2 separate regions of the Homo sapiens genome follow, and region 1 is linked to region 2. Evidence: promoter capture Hi-C in 16 types of primary human blood cells and fetal thymus (Javierre and others, 2016). All regions are on one chromosome and are shown on one strand. The core of a region is centred on a gene start or on the middle of the fragment in contact, and the rest is flanking DNA. Distances in the headings are between cores, read along the strand shown. Region 1 overlaps BACH2 (BACH transcriptional regulator 2). Region 2 holds the start of MAP3K7 (mitogen-activated protein kinase kinase kinase 7).

Evidence for each region. Contacts are between HindIII fragments. The CHiCAGO score rates a contact against its expected background, and 5 or more counts as called.
Region 1: a fragment that was not itself captured here is called in contact with the fragment with the promoter of MAP3K7 in region 2 in 5 of 17 cell types (M0 macrophages, M1 macrophages, monocytes and 2 more); the score reaches 10.5 in M0 macrophages.

What each region holds. Positions count from the first base shown.
Region 1 is chr6:89,922,074-89,929,508 of GRCh38, reverse strand. It overlaps BACH2 (BACH transcriptional regulator 2), which reads left to right. Exons shown (of 9, transcript NM_021813.4): 9 at 1-2,981. Among named protein-coding and RNA genes, the nearest start is that of GJA10, 31 kb to the right of the region's middle. RefSeq lists a silencer at 1,405-1,699. The HindIII fragment of the contact is 7,500 bases long and covers 1,181-7,435 here.
Region 2 is chr6:90,584,582-90,592,416 of GRCh38, reverse strand. MAP3K7 (mitogen-activated protein kinase kinase kinase 7) reads left to right here and starts at 5,345. Exons shown (of 17, transcript NM_145331.3): 1 at 5,345-5,653. The coding sequence starts at 5,534. It overlaps LOC124901363 (a long non-coding RNA gene), which reads right to left and starts at 5,623. Exons shown (of 2, transcript XR_007059680.1): 1 at 4,462-5,623; 2 at 1,458-1,769. RefSeq lists silencers at 5,213-5,409, 5,406-5,525. The HindIII fragment of the contact is 2,842 bases long and covers 4,914-7,755 here.

The DNA.
Region 1 (7,435 bases), core at 3,681-6,180, 660 kb after region 2:
CATAATCCACCATGAACAGTGACTAGCTTCGTGCAGTTGTTCATGTGATGTGTGTGTGTCTTTTCCTATTCAGAACTATGTGCTTGTCAAAATTATTTCTGGGTTGATTCAAAGGGAGGACTTGCTGGGGACCAGAATCCAAACGGCCTCAAGTGGAATTTTAAAACCTAGCCTGTCTCTTTTCCCTGGGATCCCTCTGTCAACCCCACGCCTTTTAGGAAAAAGAAAAGTGAGTGAACAGCAAGGAAGAGTGTTTGCACAGTACAGTAACATTTGGTTGTTCTTAAGGCTCTTTTCTTACAAAAATAAGAGACCCTCCAACCACGGGCTGTTTAGGAGGATGCCTGCTTGGGTCTCCAAATGGCTGGGGTAGGAATGGTTGTTGGGGCAGAGCCAGTGGAGGTGAGTGACCCTGAGACTAATGAACATCCCACCTAAATCCAGTCCTCCCCTTGGATCTGCCTTTGTCCTGCTTGTGTATCCAGGCAACCTCTTTTCAAGTTGGTCAGGCTTTGGACAGGTGAGTGATTTGCTGTATGTGTTTGTTTCTCTGCGTTACCTGGGGGTGCCTTGATTAAAATCGAACTTTATTACATACTGATTCTGGAACAAAACAGTTAGAAAAACTTTAAAAAAAAAAAAACCGACAAAGTTACGAGGCCATCCTGCTATTTATCTTCTGAGTTCCCAGCAATGACTCAGGCATCAGAGATGATGCTGCAGTGGAAAACCTGACTCTGTGTGTCTGCAACTGAATGTTGTGCGAGTAATTTATTAACTGTCTTTCTAAAGGTTTGCTGCTTTTAAGATGCACTATAATTCGGGATGTAATCCTTACATTGCTTTTCCAAGGAAGGGAACAAAAGTCTAGTGATTAGTATGCCAACTGCCACTACTCCTTCAAAAGGAGCCAGGACCAGCGACAAGACTCATGAGAGGACTGGCTAAAGTGAAGTGTGCACAGTGTGAAGTTTAATGCTGTTGTCAAGAGGCCTAAACCCACATTTTCTCTTTTAATATTTTATGATTGCCATCAAAGAAGAAGAAAAAGAAGGAACAGACAAAGGTTTGAAAATGATAAGCCTGTTAAGACACCAAAAACTCCTGTCCCGTGAAGCTGCTTGACATCCTGTGGAGTAGCATAATCCTCTCAAAATGAGGAAGAGCTGCCTGCAAAGCTTTCTCAAGTCCCTATTTGGCTACCTACTTCTCTACATTATGCCCCATTTAAACTAGGAGCTGTCTTAGAAATGACTTCAAACTGCTTCACTATTGCTTACAGTTTAGGAGGAGTCTCAGATCCAGAAGGAGCAAGAATCAAGTTTGGTCCTCAAATGACTGTAAATAGACTAAAGAACAAGGTGTTTTTTGTTTTTGTTTTTGTTTTCTAAGAATAAAGCTGTTCGTTGTATCATGAGTTAGTGTTTCTTCCCCAAACTGAAGACTGTGTTGGAAGTGCAATTTCTGGTGAGTCAGTCCACAATACAATGCCCTGTGTGGAGTTGGTATTCATACAGGAAATCTGTGTGCACGAGGCATTGTGTGTTGAAAGTGTATGTTTATAGTACTGCCTGAGCCATCTCATGACCCCAGCGTCCAAAACCGATGCTGTAGAACAGAACATATCTGTACACAAATAGTGTGTGCAAATAGCATTTGTACATAGAAAAGTCTCATTGTGGCAGATTGAGCATAAATTATTCAACTGACGGTGCAAAAACATTACTTGCAAAGAAAAGTTTATAGTATTTTCCTACACTCCACCCTGGGAGATGATATTTCTATCAAATGAATATCAGTGCATTTTAAATGTAATATGAAAACGATGCTGCCATTTTGTGAAGAATACCCACTTGGTTGCAGAGGCCAACTTTCATAGCTTTGATTTAATGTTGTGACACGGTGTATGCATTTTGCTGTCAAGCAATGGATAAACAGCTCTGACTTTCATTCTCATTCCAGTTTATTGACCTCAGATAAAACACTGGCCCTTCTTAGAAGCAGAAGTGTGCACCAAGACCATTCATTTCAGGTAGACTCACATTCAGTGCCAAGTGCTCCCATGGGAATAATCAGACGCATATGTTGCGAAAGAGTGAAGGGACTTGGACAAAGAGGGGTTTTCCTACAGATGGATGCTCAGTCTTCTACCAAAACATGTTTGGAGGCAGAACTATGACCTCCCCTTAAGTCCTAACAATGTATTTTGTGTGTGCAAATCCTGGGATGCCCGTTTCACGCTCTGACATAAAGACATGGCACCTCTAGTGAGTGATCAGGAAGATTCCATATGCATTTGGGAGCTTCAGGTGCTTGTTAGACACAGTGAGCCATTCAAGGCAAGCACCACCTTTGCTAGTGAGGCCAAGAGAGCCTGTGACAATTTGACAATTTGTTCCAGAACCAGTCTGATGCAAGTGCACCTCTAATATATGCCTTACAAACTCCAGAGGCCATATTCAAAACAGGGTCTTCTCAGTGTATGCAAGGGGCTGCAGCCCCTCTTCTCTTCCTCCCCAGGTTGAACAATACGGACAGTTTTCACACATATCTACCTGTATAACCCTCTGTACCTCTCATAACTGGTCAACGACTGTAACAGGTTACATCAGGTGTTTTTCTACATACTTTTTACACAGATTCTATGCGATTAATGTAATTTAATTCAATGCATCATTTTATTGTACTAGTTCTTAGGCTTGTCCTTATTTTTTTCTAAGTGATTGTGGTTTTTCTCGTGGTTTTTATTGTAAAAAATGAAAGGCTGTTGATGCTTATTCTCTGTAACTAAGAATTTTTACCTTTTGGGGGAAAAAAGCATTGCTATGAACTAATGAATTGAAACTTCATTTACTCATTGTAAATACACTATTGTGCAAAAAAAGTTTTCACTCAATTGAATTGCTAGTGTTAACTGAATTTTGTCTAGACACCATTTCTGTTGATGAAATAAAGACATATCATTATGCATTGTAAACTGATTTTCTCTGCCTCTGATCCCTATGTTCCAAATTACAGAGTGAGAAACCTCAGGAAATCTTTTTTCCTAGAGGCCATTTCTCTTCCTCTAGTTTGGACCCTTACTTGCTACCTGATTAATCTGATTAGGAATCTTTAAAATTGGATAATATTAATGTGATTCCTAAACTCTGAATTTTAAAAATCCCTAGTGCCTGTGAGAGTAGATAAAAGGCTTTAAACCCAATTTCTCGGTTTTGATATTGTGCTATCGCTATGCAGAATGTTACCACGGGAGAAAACTGGGTGATGGGTATCATTTCTTGCAACTGCATGTGAATCTGCAATTATATCCAAAATAGGCTGAATTTTTTAAAAACTAAATGAAAGTAAATGAGAAAGAACATTAAGCCAACACCAAGATGCAGTGAGTTGCAAGGAAAGATGTTTAGAATTGTGGTTGAGGAATCCATACAGTCATGCATTGGTTAGTGAAGGGGGTACGTTGTGAGAAATGCATCCTTACGCAATTTCCTATTGTGAGAACATCAGGGTGTGCCACACCAACCTAGATGAGAAAGCCTATGACACACCTAGACTAGATGTTCCTAGATTGCAAACTTGTGCAGCATGTAACTGTACTGGATATGGTAGGCAATTGTAACACCAGGGTAAGTAGTTGTGTATCTTAACATAGAAAAGTTGCAGTAAAAATAGGGTTTACAATCTTATGGAACCGCTGTCATATATTCGTCCCATCATTGACCAAAACATGGTTATGCCATGCATGACTGTACAGTTTAAAAGTTGTATTCTAAAAGTGTATTTGATAGTTATGTCTTCGATTTTGATGTAAAGAGAAAACAAGATATCAAATGGTGGGCAGGTCGAGTGACCATGAGCGAACACTGGACTGGAGCTCGGAGGTGAGAGAAAGCCACTAGAGCAGAGCAGGGGGGTCTGAGCTGTCAGCGAGGCTGTAACCAGTGCATGCGCATGGTATCCGGGCAGGGCAGGGCTGTGCTGCCGAGATTCACGCTTCAAGGAGTGCATGCGACCGCCAGATGGGAAAACGGAAATTAAAAACTGCCAAGTTCTGCTCCCTCGGGCGAGTCTCCATGGGCACCTATGGAGTCAAGGAAGGCTTCCTGAGAGCAGGTCATGGGTTTTGCAAATGTGTGCTGCTGTGACAACGTCGCAGTCATAACATTTTCGGTACAAGAGGCGGATTACCTACGCCTGAAGATGTGAAGTTAATCCACTCTGAGAAAAACAGGTGGGTCAGAGTCCCAAAATTTTCTGTGGGAAAACCTGGTAATTTAGAACTGATGGTCATGTGCACCTTCAACCCTGACATCTGCTCTTGTGATACAAATAATGGTCATGCATTGAAGGAAAATAAACCTCACCAGCTGTTGCGTCCTGCAAAACAGGCGTCCCCGACCCCTGGGCCGCAGACTGGTTCCGGTCCATGACCTGTTAGGAACAGGCCGCACAGCAAGAGGTGAGCAGCTGGGGAGTGAACATTACTGCCTGAGCTCCACCTCCTGCCCCATCAGCGGTGGCACTGGATTCCCATAGGAGCGCGAACCCTACTGTGAACGGTGCATGTGCGGGATCTGGGTTGCAGCTCCTTATGAGACTCTAATGCCTGATGATCTGAGGTGGAACGGTGTCATCCCGAAAACATCCCCCCACCCCCGCTGCCTCTGGTCCGTGGAAAATTTGTCTTCCACGATACCAGTCCCTGGTGCCAAAAAGGTTGGGAATCGCGGCTACAAAAGAGCTTTTAAGCACTGTCCAGCCCCAGGTGGACAGCAGCCATTTTCTTTCCTACTTTACATGTGCTTCTTATGGGAAATTTGTATCTGCCTCTGGGGCAGTGAGGACAGGTTCCTTCTACACCAGGCCCTGCCAGCAGTTTTGTTGTATGTATTTGGAAATAACTGAGCTGTTCTTTGAAATCATTTTAGAGTCTTTCACTCTTCTCCAACCCACCACCTCACCCAACTCTGCCCCACCACTTGGGATGCATTAGCAAGATTGTACTTAATGTTTAACAGCAGCTGGTGAAGGTGCCGTGAGCAGAAATGGGTTTCCAATTCTCCTCACTGAGCACCTATGCCTTCGTGGTACAAGTGAACACAATACTTCCTGGTGTCAAAAAATCAAGGCCCAAAGAGATGGAGAAAGCCACACATCCCATTACGCAAGTGTCTTTCATTTCACTCAAGAGCATGACGCCTTCTGTCTCCACACCCGTCCCTGGTTCCTGCAGATCCTGACACACATCTGCCACTGGCCTGCTTAGCCACAAAGAGGCATTGCTGATTCTCCATGGCTAGTTCTTACTCTTTCTTCTTGAAGATAAGTGCATCCCTGAGACAGTGCCCTTCATCCCGAAGCAGTGAATGGAAACCTTCAGAGACATGCTAGCAGTCACTGGAAACATTACATTTTACACTGGGCCCTTCAGACTTTGTTTTTTCTTCTTTGTAGAGACAAGGCCTTGCTATGTTGCCCAGGCTGGAGTGCAATGGCTATTCACAGGCATCATCATAGTGCGCCGCAGCTGTGAACTCCTGGCCGCAAGAATCCTCTCACCTCGGCCTCCCAAGTAGCTGGGACTACAGGTGGGCCACCAGGCCCAGCTCAAACTTGTTTTTGTTGTTGTGTTGTTTTGAGACGTGCTCTGTTGCCAGGCTGGAGTGCAGTGGTCCAATCTTGGCTCACTGCAACTTCCGTCTCCCAAGTTCATGCGATTGTCCTGCCTCAGCCTCCCAAGTAGCTGGGACTACAGGCGCACACCACCACACCCAGCTAATTTTTGTATTTTTAGTAGAGACGTGGTTTCGCCATGTTGGCCAGGATGGTCTCGCTCTCTTGGCCTCATGATCCCCACACCTCGGCCTCCCAAAGTTCTGGGATTACAGGCGTGAGCCACCACACCCAGCCTCAAACTTGTTTTTTAAAACCTCCATTTGTGCTGTGTTTTTGACAACCCTGTAAAGACTTTTCAGAGTGAAAGAAATTGAAATTACAAAAAAAGTTGCCATAGAGGCCTCTGAAACCTATTGACAAACTTATTGACACAACATGACAGAAAGTGAATAAGAAATAAAGACTGGAAAATTGGAAGCAATGGGTAAGGTATTGCCTTTGGTGTTTATACATAAATATATATTTATTCAACCAACACTGTGTTACATGCTAAGCATCCAAGATGTCAAATACCTTACCCTTACAGCTTTCACAGGCTAGTTGGGCAGAGAGATGTACAAATAAATCATTGCCCAGGGGCTGCTGACTTTTACAGAAAGGAGAACAAGGATTTCTGAAAGGACTGTGGGCCTCAGAGCAGCTGGATATGGATTTGAATTCCAGCAGGCACTTCAGCCGTGTAATCTTTAACTGTGGAGAAAATCTCTTTGAGCCTTGTCTGATCTATAAGATGAAAATGAACAATAACAACTTGACAAGTTGTACAAGGTATAGATAATGTGAGCACGTGGAATATAGTATGCCCCTTAAAAAGGCACATTTTGGGGGCCGGTCATGGTAGCTCACACCTGTAATCTATGTAAGTGCTATGGGGGCGCTGAGGCAGGAGGATCACTTGCAGCCAGGAGTTCCAGACTAGCCTGGGCAACATAGCAAGTCCTCATTTTTACAAAAAAAAAAAATTGTTTTTAATTAGCTGGGAGTGGTGGTGCACCTCTATAGTGCCAGTTAGTGGGAAGGCTGAGGTAGGAGAATTGCTTGAACCCGGGAGGCAGAGGTTGCAGTGAGCCAAGATCACACCACTGCACTCTAGCCTGGGCAACAGAGCGAGACCTGTCTTTTAAAAAAAACAAAAACAAAAACAAAAACCCTATCATCTACCCCCCCACCGTTACTATAATTACAGGGCTGCCACAAAGAAAGGCATGGTGAGTGAATGGGGTTGGCCGAGAAGATATGTTGGAACTGCCTCCATAAAAATAATGAGTCCCCAAAAGGCAGCCACAGGATAGGTGGACACTGTCCAGCAGCAGACTGCTGGGTGGGCAACAGCAGGTAGGAGCGGCAGAGCTGCCACAGCTGGGCTACAAGTGAGAAGCGGGGAATGAGGTCAGAGGCAGGGGCCAGTGCCTGAATTTCCTGTGGCTTTTATCTCATAGGACATAGATGATGCCGAGCCTTATAACTTTCAACCAAATTGATTCTCCTTATAACCTGAAGCCTTTATTATCAAGTGTGTGGCCAGGGTTGGGGGCCACTCTGGCCATGGGGTGGAGGACGGGGAAGCTAAGAGGCTCTTTCCATGGGAATTGAGTCCACCTTTATGGCTCTAAAAACTCAGGGTTGGGCGCAGTGGCTCACGCCTGTAATCCCAGCACTTTGGGAAGCCGAGATGGGCGGATCACCCGAGGTCAGGAGTTCAAGACCAGCCTCGCTACCACAAGGCTAAAAATACAAAAACACAAAAATTAGCCGG
Region 2 (7,835 bases), core at 4,096-6,595:
TCTGCATACTCCAGTTCTGAATACAGTGCAGCAGAATACTATTTCTGAACTTCCTGGAAAGAATAATATTTAATTGGGTTGGGTGGGTTTGGGTCTCAGGCAGTAAAAATAGCACTTTCTAGGTGTGGAGCTTGTGTTAGGGCTTTCCGGAGAATCAAAACCAGTAAGATATATATAAGGAGATCTATTATGAAAATTGGCTCATGTAATTACGGAGGCCATGAAGTTACCCCATCTGCTTTCTGCAAGCTAGAGAACCAGGAAAGCCAGTGGTGTAATCCAGTCCAAGACCTGAGAACCAGGGGAGCCAAGAGTGTAACTCTCAGACCGGCTCTAAAGGCCTAAGGGGAGGACTGGTGTAAGTCCTGAAGTCCAAAGGCCAAGACCCAGGATCTCTGATGTCTGAGTACAGAGGAAATAGATGTCCCAGCTCAAGAAGAGAGAGTGAATCATCCTTCCTTTACCTTTTTGTCCTGTTGGGCTCTCAACAATGGGATGATGACTCCCTACATTGGTGAGGTCAGATCTTCTTTACTCAGCCTACTTAATCAAATGCTAATCTCTTCCAAGTACACCCTCGCCGACACACCCAGATATAATGTTTTGCCAGCTAGCTGGGTATACCTTAGCCAAATCAAGTTGACACAAAATTAACCATCACAGAGCTCAATCTGAATAAACATATGAATAATGAGCATTTGCTGGTTGCATACCCACCACCCATCAACCATTGCCTGCTTTGCTGTTCCTAAGAGTATTAAGATTTTCCTTCGGGTTAGCATCTCCTCCTCCTCCTTAGAGCCCATGTTTCCAGGAGCCCTCAATCTAAGTTAAACAACGTACAGTCATGCATTGCTTAACTACAGGGATAAGTTTTGAGAAGTGTGTTGATCGGCAATTCCACCATTATGTGAACATCATAGAGTGTACTTATACAAACATTATATACTTATATCATTACAAGATGACATAGCCTACTATACACCTAGGCTATATGGTATACCTAGGTATATAACAGCTATACCTGTTCCTAGGCTACAAGCTGTATAAACCATGTTACTATACTGAATACTGCAGGCAAATGTAACACAATGGTATTTGTGTATCTAAACATAGAAAAGGTACAGTAACGAAACAATATAAAAGATTTAAAAAAATGGTACACCTATATAGGGCACTCACCATAAATGGAGTTTGCAAGACTGGAAGTTACTCTGGGTGAGCCAGTGAGTGACTGGTGAGTGAATGCGAAGGCCTAGAACATTACTGTACACTACTGTAGACTTTATAAACACTGTACTCTTGGGTTACACTAAATTTATTTTTTAAAAGTTTTCTTCAACAATAAATTAACCTTAGCTTATTATAACTCTTTTACTTCATAAACTTTTAAATTTTTTAAAACTTTTTGACTCTTTTGTAATAACACTTAGCTTTAAAACACAAACACACTGAACAGCTGTACAAAAGTATTTTATTTGGATCCTTATTCTATACACTTTTTTCTGTTTATTTATTTTTTTATAGTTTTTAAACGTTTTGGCTAAAAAGTAAGACAAACATATGTTGGCCTAGGTCTACCTACACAGGGTCAGGATCATCAACATCACTATCTTCCACCTCCACATCTTGTCCCACCAGAAAGTCTTCAGGGGCAATAACACGCACGGAGCAGTCATCTCTTATGATAACAATGCCTTCTTCTGGAATACCTCCTGAAGGACCTGCCTGAGGCTGTTTTATAGTTTTTTTATGGAAGTAGGAGTACACTGTAAAATAACAATTAAAAAGTATAGTATAGTAATTATATAAACCAGTAACATAGTTGTTTATCATTATCAATATTATGCACTGCACATAATTGTATTATACTTTTGTATGACTAGCAGCATAAGTTTGTTTACACCAGTATCACCACAAACACGAGTAATGCACTATAAGTAATGTGTCATGCTATGACATTACTATGGCTACAATGTCACTAGCCAATAGGATTTTTTCAGCTTCATTATAATCATATAGGACCACTGTCACATATGAGGTCCATTGACCAAAAAATCGTTATGCAGCGCATGACTGTGTGTATCCTCAAGCATCCTGTTCCCCATCCCTCAAGGGTAAACTTACCAAGGGCTTTTGAAAAAGAATGTTTAACTGCTCTTCTGAGATGGCTACCAAGAGATGCTCTCGGTTGTACTTTGTGATGTGTCATGTGAAAAATGAAACTGCTAGTACATGCATTCTCAATGGAGGCAATAACACCTCCACAGGGGGCAAAAACTGGAGAGAGAAAAAATCTTACTCTTTTTACATAGAAAGCACAAATATACATACAATACATAAATAGATATACAGTGTATCTGAGGTATTAAAACTTTGAGGAGGGGCATTAAGATGTCTAAAAAGGCTCCTTAAAAGAACAATAATGAAAAAAAAGATTGAAAAACACTATTGTAGAATATAGCAAATACCACAAAAGGCAGAAGAGAATAATGGAAACTCAATTATTGATGTTATCATCAAGCCTATGATGGAAATATGGAACACTTGTCTGACATATATATGACCCAGAACATTAAAGTGGTGTTACTTTAGTCCCAGTTTCTGCTAAGCCTCCATTAAAATAGGTCCCAGATATCCCTACACCCAAAATGAGCCAAATAAGATCAGAATCTCATTTAGAACAAGCAAAGAGGTGGTGGGAAATGGATTTTGAAACCCTTGTCCTCTCAACCCCTGGAGAGTATAAAAGGGCCAAAATTGAAGACAGAGTTGGAAGTTAGAGAGTAGTTATTAGGGTGCTGACATGAGGGAGAATGGTGGAGGGTGCTCAAACTCGGAGGGACTTCAAGGAATTTACTTAAATAGTTTTGATATGTATCCGGAAACGTGTGGAGACACACAGACTGGTGACTGAAGTTGACATGAAATTCTGAGGTCAAGTTTCTATCCTTAATTCATGAAAGTTAAAGGAAATGCAAAGTCAAAATTGAAGTGAACTGAGAGAGGTTCAGCTCCCCTCCATCATTCCTCTGCATTTAAACTTTATTACTTAGGATTATTTGGTTACAAGTGACAAAAATACAACTTGGACCAGCTTAAATGAAATGGTAATTTACTAGCTCACATAACCAAATCACAGAATGTAAGAGATGGATTGGACCTTGGGAATGACTGAACCCAGAGACATAAACACTGATGAAACTTTCCATCTATTACTAGAAGCTAGGGAAAAGGCGCAGGCAGACAAAAAAGAAAAAAGTAATCTGCAAGCAAGTTGGACAAAAATTGATTTTAGACTGGCATCAATATTAGAAGTCCAAATCAGTGGATAAAACATAGAAGTGTTGGGGTAGAAGATATTCAAAATCATGTAATCAATTCACTTTGAAATGCATCTAGCAAAATGGTAGATGGATGTAAATATGGATGGAGAGATGAGATGCACATATGTATATTATGATAAAGCAAGTATAGTAAAATGTTAAAGGTAGAATCCTGGTGGTGGGCATATAGGTGTTCACCATAAATTCTTTCAACTTTTCTCTATATTTGACATTTTTGTAACAAAATTTTGGGGGGAAAAATCAAGCAGGAGAACTGCATCATGGCTGTGGTAATTAATTAGTCCTTTGTCAAGATTCCAGTCCTAAACTGAAGGTACAGGAAACATATCTTACACTCCAGGGAAAGGGAGGACTGACAAAAGCTATTCATTTGTACAGAATATCTAAGTATTTATTGAGTTCCCACCTGGCAGCAAGATCAAGGTGTTAAAAGGAAATCGGATATAGACCTGCAGAGTTATAGCACAAGGTAAGAAGTGACCATCCTTGTTTGGAAATGCAAGGGGAATGACAGGTGAAAATGACTGTCCCACTGATTATATCAGCTTCTACTGGGTATCAGTGCACCACGCATCATTTCACATGCCCTGATTTCTCACTTGGACAACCAACTGGGTGATGGCATCCTTAAGTGACATAGGAAAATAACATAGGAATATATTTGTGGTGGGTGACAACTTTTGAATTTGCTGTGGTATCTTGAAGTTTAGGTGTTTGTCTAAGTAGAGATGACCAATAGGTCCAGAATTCAGGAAAAATCTTGAGTATTTGGAGATTAGGAGTCATCATTATAAAAATAGTATGAGAAACAGAGACCTTGGGTAAGAGCATGCAAAGAGAGAGTGTACAGTGAAAAGAAATTATCGTTTCTTTCATTTTTTTATCCACTCATCAAACTGTCACTGCGTGTCACTAGAACTACGAATAAAAAGTGACAGAATGTTTCCCAGGAGTTTGTAACTTCTTGATGGTCAAATCCAATGATCTATTTGCAATCCCAAATGTGTTTAACATAATTCCACAGTTAGGCTTTATGTCAAACGGACTATATAAAATTCAACAGTTAGTTTAAAACTAAAACTTGTGCTGGTAGTACAACATGAGCAATACTGACCATCTTGGGGACAGAATGATCTAGTTTGTGAGGACCATAATTGCTTTAAACTCTCAGCGTGTTTTCTCATGTCCTGAAAATGGTGACAAAAATATTCGATTTTCAAGGCGACTGTTGATGATTCATTTACCAATCTAAAGCACTAGTGCCCCGCACTCGTAATCCATAACTTGAGATGAACACACCAAATTATAAATATCTTATTCACCTAATCCGTGGAAAGTTTGTAACACCAAAATATTAACTTCTGTTCTTGATCACTCAGCCTCCATAGTTATTCATGTTGCATGATCTGATTCGCTCTTTTAGAATTTCTCATAGCGTCAGGTACTAGCTCAAAATAACAGGAGCAACTGCTTCTTTCCATATCCCACATTGAGGAAAACACATTTTGCAAGCCGTCTTAAAGAAACAGGTCAACTTAGTTTAGGGATGAAACTTAAAAGTAAGCTTCGTCACAAAAAACACAGTTCAACACCACCTCGCCCGGCTGCAGGCAGCTCAGAGGACAGGAAGTGAGGCCAAGACATATTTCACGCAGCACAGACTAAACCCCAGCTTTTATCTTTCCCGCTGGTCCTTAAGGGACCAACCGTACTGATTTTCCGTCATGTTCCGCGCCACTTCCGTTCGCGCACTTTAATTACGTCAGGCGTCCTCTCTCGCGGTATCATCCGGTTGCTGAGGCCCTGTAATAAAGGTCTCGCGAAATTTGTTCTAGAGGTCCAAGTTTGCTTCTTAGCTTACTCCACCCCACCCCCAACCTGTCCCTCCTTTTCTTTCCAAGTCACAAAATTCTCCCCTCCCCTACCCCGGAGTTTACGGCCCTCCTCCTGTTTCCGATTTCAGCCCGGAACCGGAAGTGTAGTGGGCGGGGCCCGTCGGCGGAAAACGCAGCGGAGCCAGAGCCGGACACGGCTGTGGCCGCTGCCTCTACCCCCGCCACGGATCGCCGGGTAGTAGGACTGCGCGGCTCCAGGCTGAGGGTCGGTCCGGAGGCGGGTGGGCGCGGGTCTCACCCGGATTGTCCGGGTGGCACCGTTCCCGGCCCCACCGGGCGCCGCGAGGGATCATGTCTACAGCCTCTGCCGCCTCCTCCTCCTCCTCGTCTTCGGCCGGTGAGATGATCGAAGCCCCTTCCCAGGTCCTCAACTTTGAAGAGATCGACTACAAGGAGATCGAGGTGGAAGAGGTGAGCGAGGCCCGGCATGGAGACGCCGGTCCCGGCCTGCCCCGCCCCCGCCTCTGCCTGGTGCCGGCTCTGAAGGTGCCTCCCGGGGCCCCTCTAATTCGCGGGACCCTGCGGGGTCCACCCGGGAGACCCCACAGCCCTCAGTAACGTGGGAGTGGGGGTTACTCTCTGAGCTCAACTGCTCGGGAGTAGCTGCCTTTTTTCCTCTCTTGGGTACTCTTGATTTTGGATTTGATATTCCGGTGATAAACAGGAGAATGAACTGGTGAGATAGTGTGGTCCACCAGTTCTCGTATCTGTAAGTAGTAGTTTCAGCGAAGATCGTAGCCGTTCTGGAGTTTCAGTCCGCTGGACGTAATGTTCTTTTTTTTTTTTTTTTTTTTTTGAGACGGAGTCTCGCTCTGTCGCCCAGGCCGGACTGCGGACTGCAGTGGCGCAATCTCGGCTCACTGCAAGCTCCGCTTCCCGGGTTCACGCCATTCTCCTGCCTCAGCCTCCCGAGTAGCTGGGACTACAGGCGCCCGCCACCGCGCCTGGCTAATTTTTTGTATTTTTAGTAGAGACGGGGTTTCACCTTGTTAGCCAGGATGGTCTCGATCTCCTGACCTCATGATCCACCCGCCTCGGCCTCCCAAAGTGCTGGGATTACAGGCGTGAGCCACCGGGCCCGGCCGGACGTAATGTTCTTAATGGCCAAAGATTGTATTATATTCGACTTCTACTTCAGTACCTGGCATGTAGGGGATGCTCAATAAATGCTTGTTAAATTAGTAGATCATCAAGTCTAATAAAGTGTTTCCCTTAGCACCGAATGGTTCTCAATTTCTCCGATACCGCACAGCAATACTCGTAATGTTTAAATGCTCGGCTTTCAGTTGGGCTAATGTAGGTGAATTTCACCATAAGTAACATAGACTGGTCTACGATCAAAAGATGTTTCAAGTAGCATATTCTGAAGAGATAACGAATGATTTCGGTGACAATCAGAATATAATATTAGACTAGAAATCGCTATCAGAAAACCCATATCCTTTCTTTATTCTGCAGTAATTTATTTTAGAACAAGATATTTCAAAGTGACTTTAAAGCGTCGTTTTTCAAATTAACAGGTAAATTGGGTTCTAATGACTATAAAATTTAGAAAAGTAAAAACTGCATATATATTTTTTAAAGACACTTTAGAACTTGTTAAAAACTTTGGTTGAAAATACTATCTCTTACCATTTATTTGCCATTTTTTAAATTTATTAAGCACTTTGCGTTATATAGTCCATGAAAAACCTAGTGAAATATTATAGATTGTCAACGAGTTATGTCTACTTTAAAATTCTAAAATTATTTTTAAGTGTCAGCAAGTTCAAAGTAGTGAGATAACGTTCAACAAATAAATTTTTTTTCCTGTGCATGTTTTGGAAGAGTAATGGATTACTGAATTATATATGTTTTATCACATAAAGTAACTTTAGAGATTATTGAGAATATCCTCATTTTACAAGATAATATGGTGGAAAGAGCAAGGTCTTTGGAGTTAGAGGAAAGTTCAGTGTATCAGATATGCCATTTATTAGCTGTGTGATTTGGGGCAAGTTTCCTAACCCCTTTGAATTTTAGTTTACTCTAAGAAAGGGCTAATAAATTCTGTTTCATTTTATCTGCATAACAGATCTTAGTAGACATTATATGCAAAACACCTACCACAGGGCCTGACACATATTAGGAAACCTAGTTCCAGAGAGGAAATGTGACCTGCTTTAAGGTCATATGGCTAAAAGAAGACCTGTATTTTGAAAAGAGGGGGAAATGTTTTTAGTTTCTTTTTTTTTACATTGAGGCTATGATAAATTCCTTTTCCAGAAGTGGATAGTTGATGCAGCTTTCATGGCTAATATTCTTTTTTAAGAATAAAAATTCAGTGAGTCAGTATACAAGAATTGCAGTTTTTAAATAAGCGTTTACGTCTGCTCTGTGGTGAATTGCTATGCTTGTAGACTACAAATTGTTATATAATAATAACTTGTGCTTTATGGTCTACTAAATGCTTTCACAAACTTACTTCATTTGGTTCTTACAACCTTAGTTTTTGAATGCTACTTTCTAAAGCTTTTTACATTCTTGATTCAGGGAAAAACAAATTACTAAGGAGGTAGTTATCATTTTGATGTTCTTCCCCTAAAGCTATTTC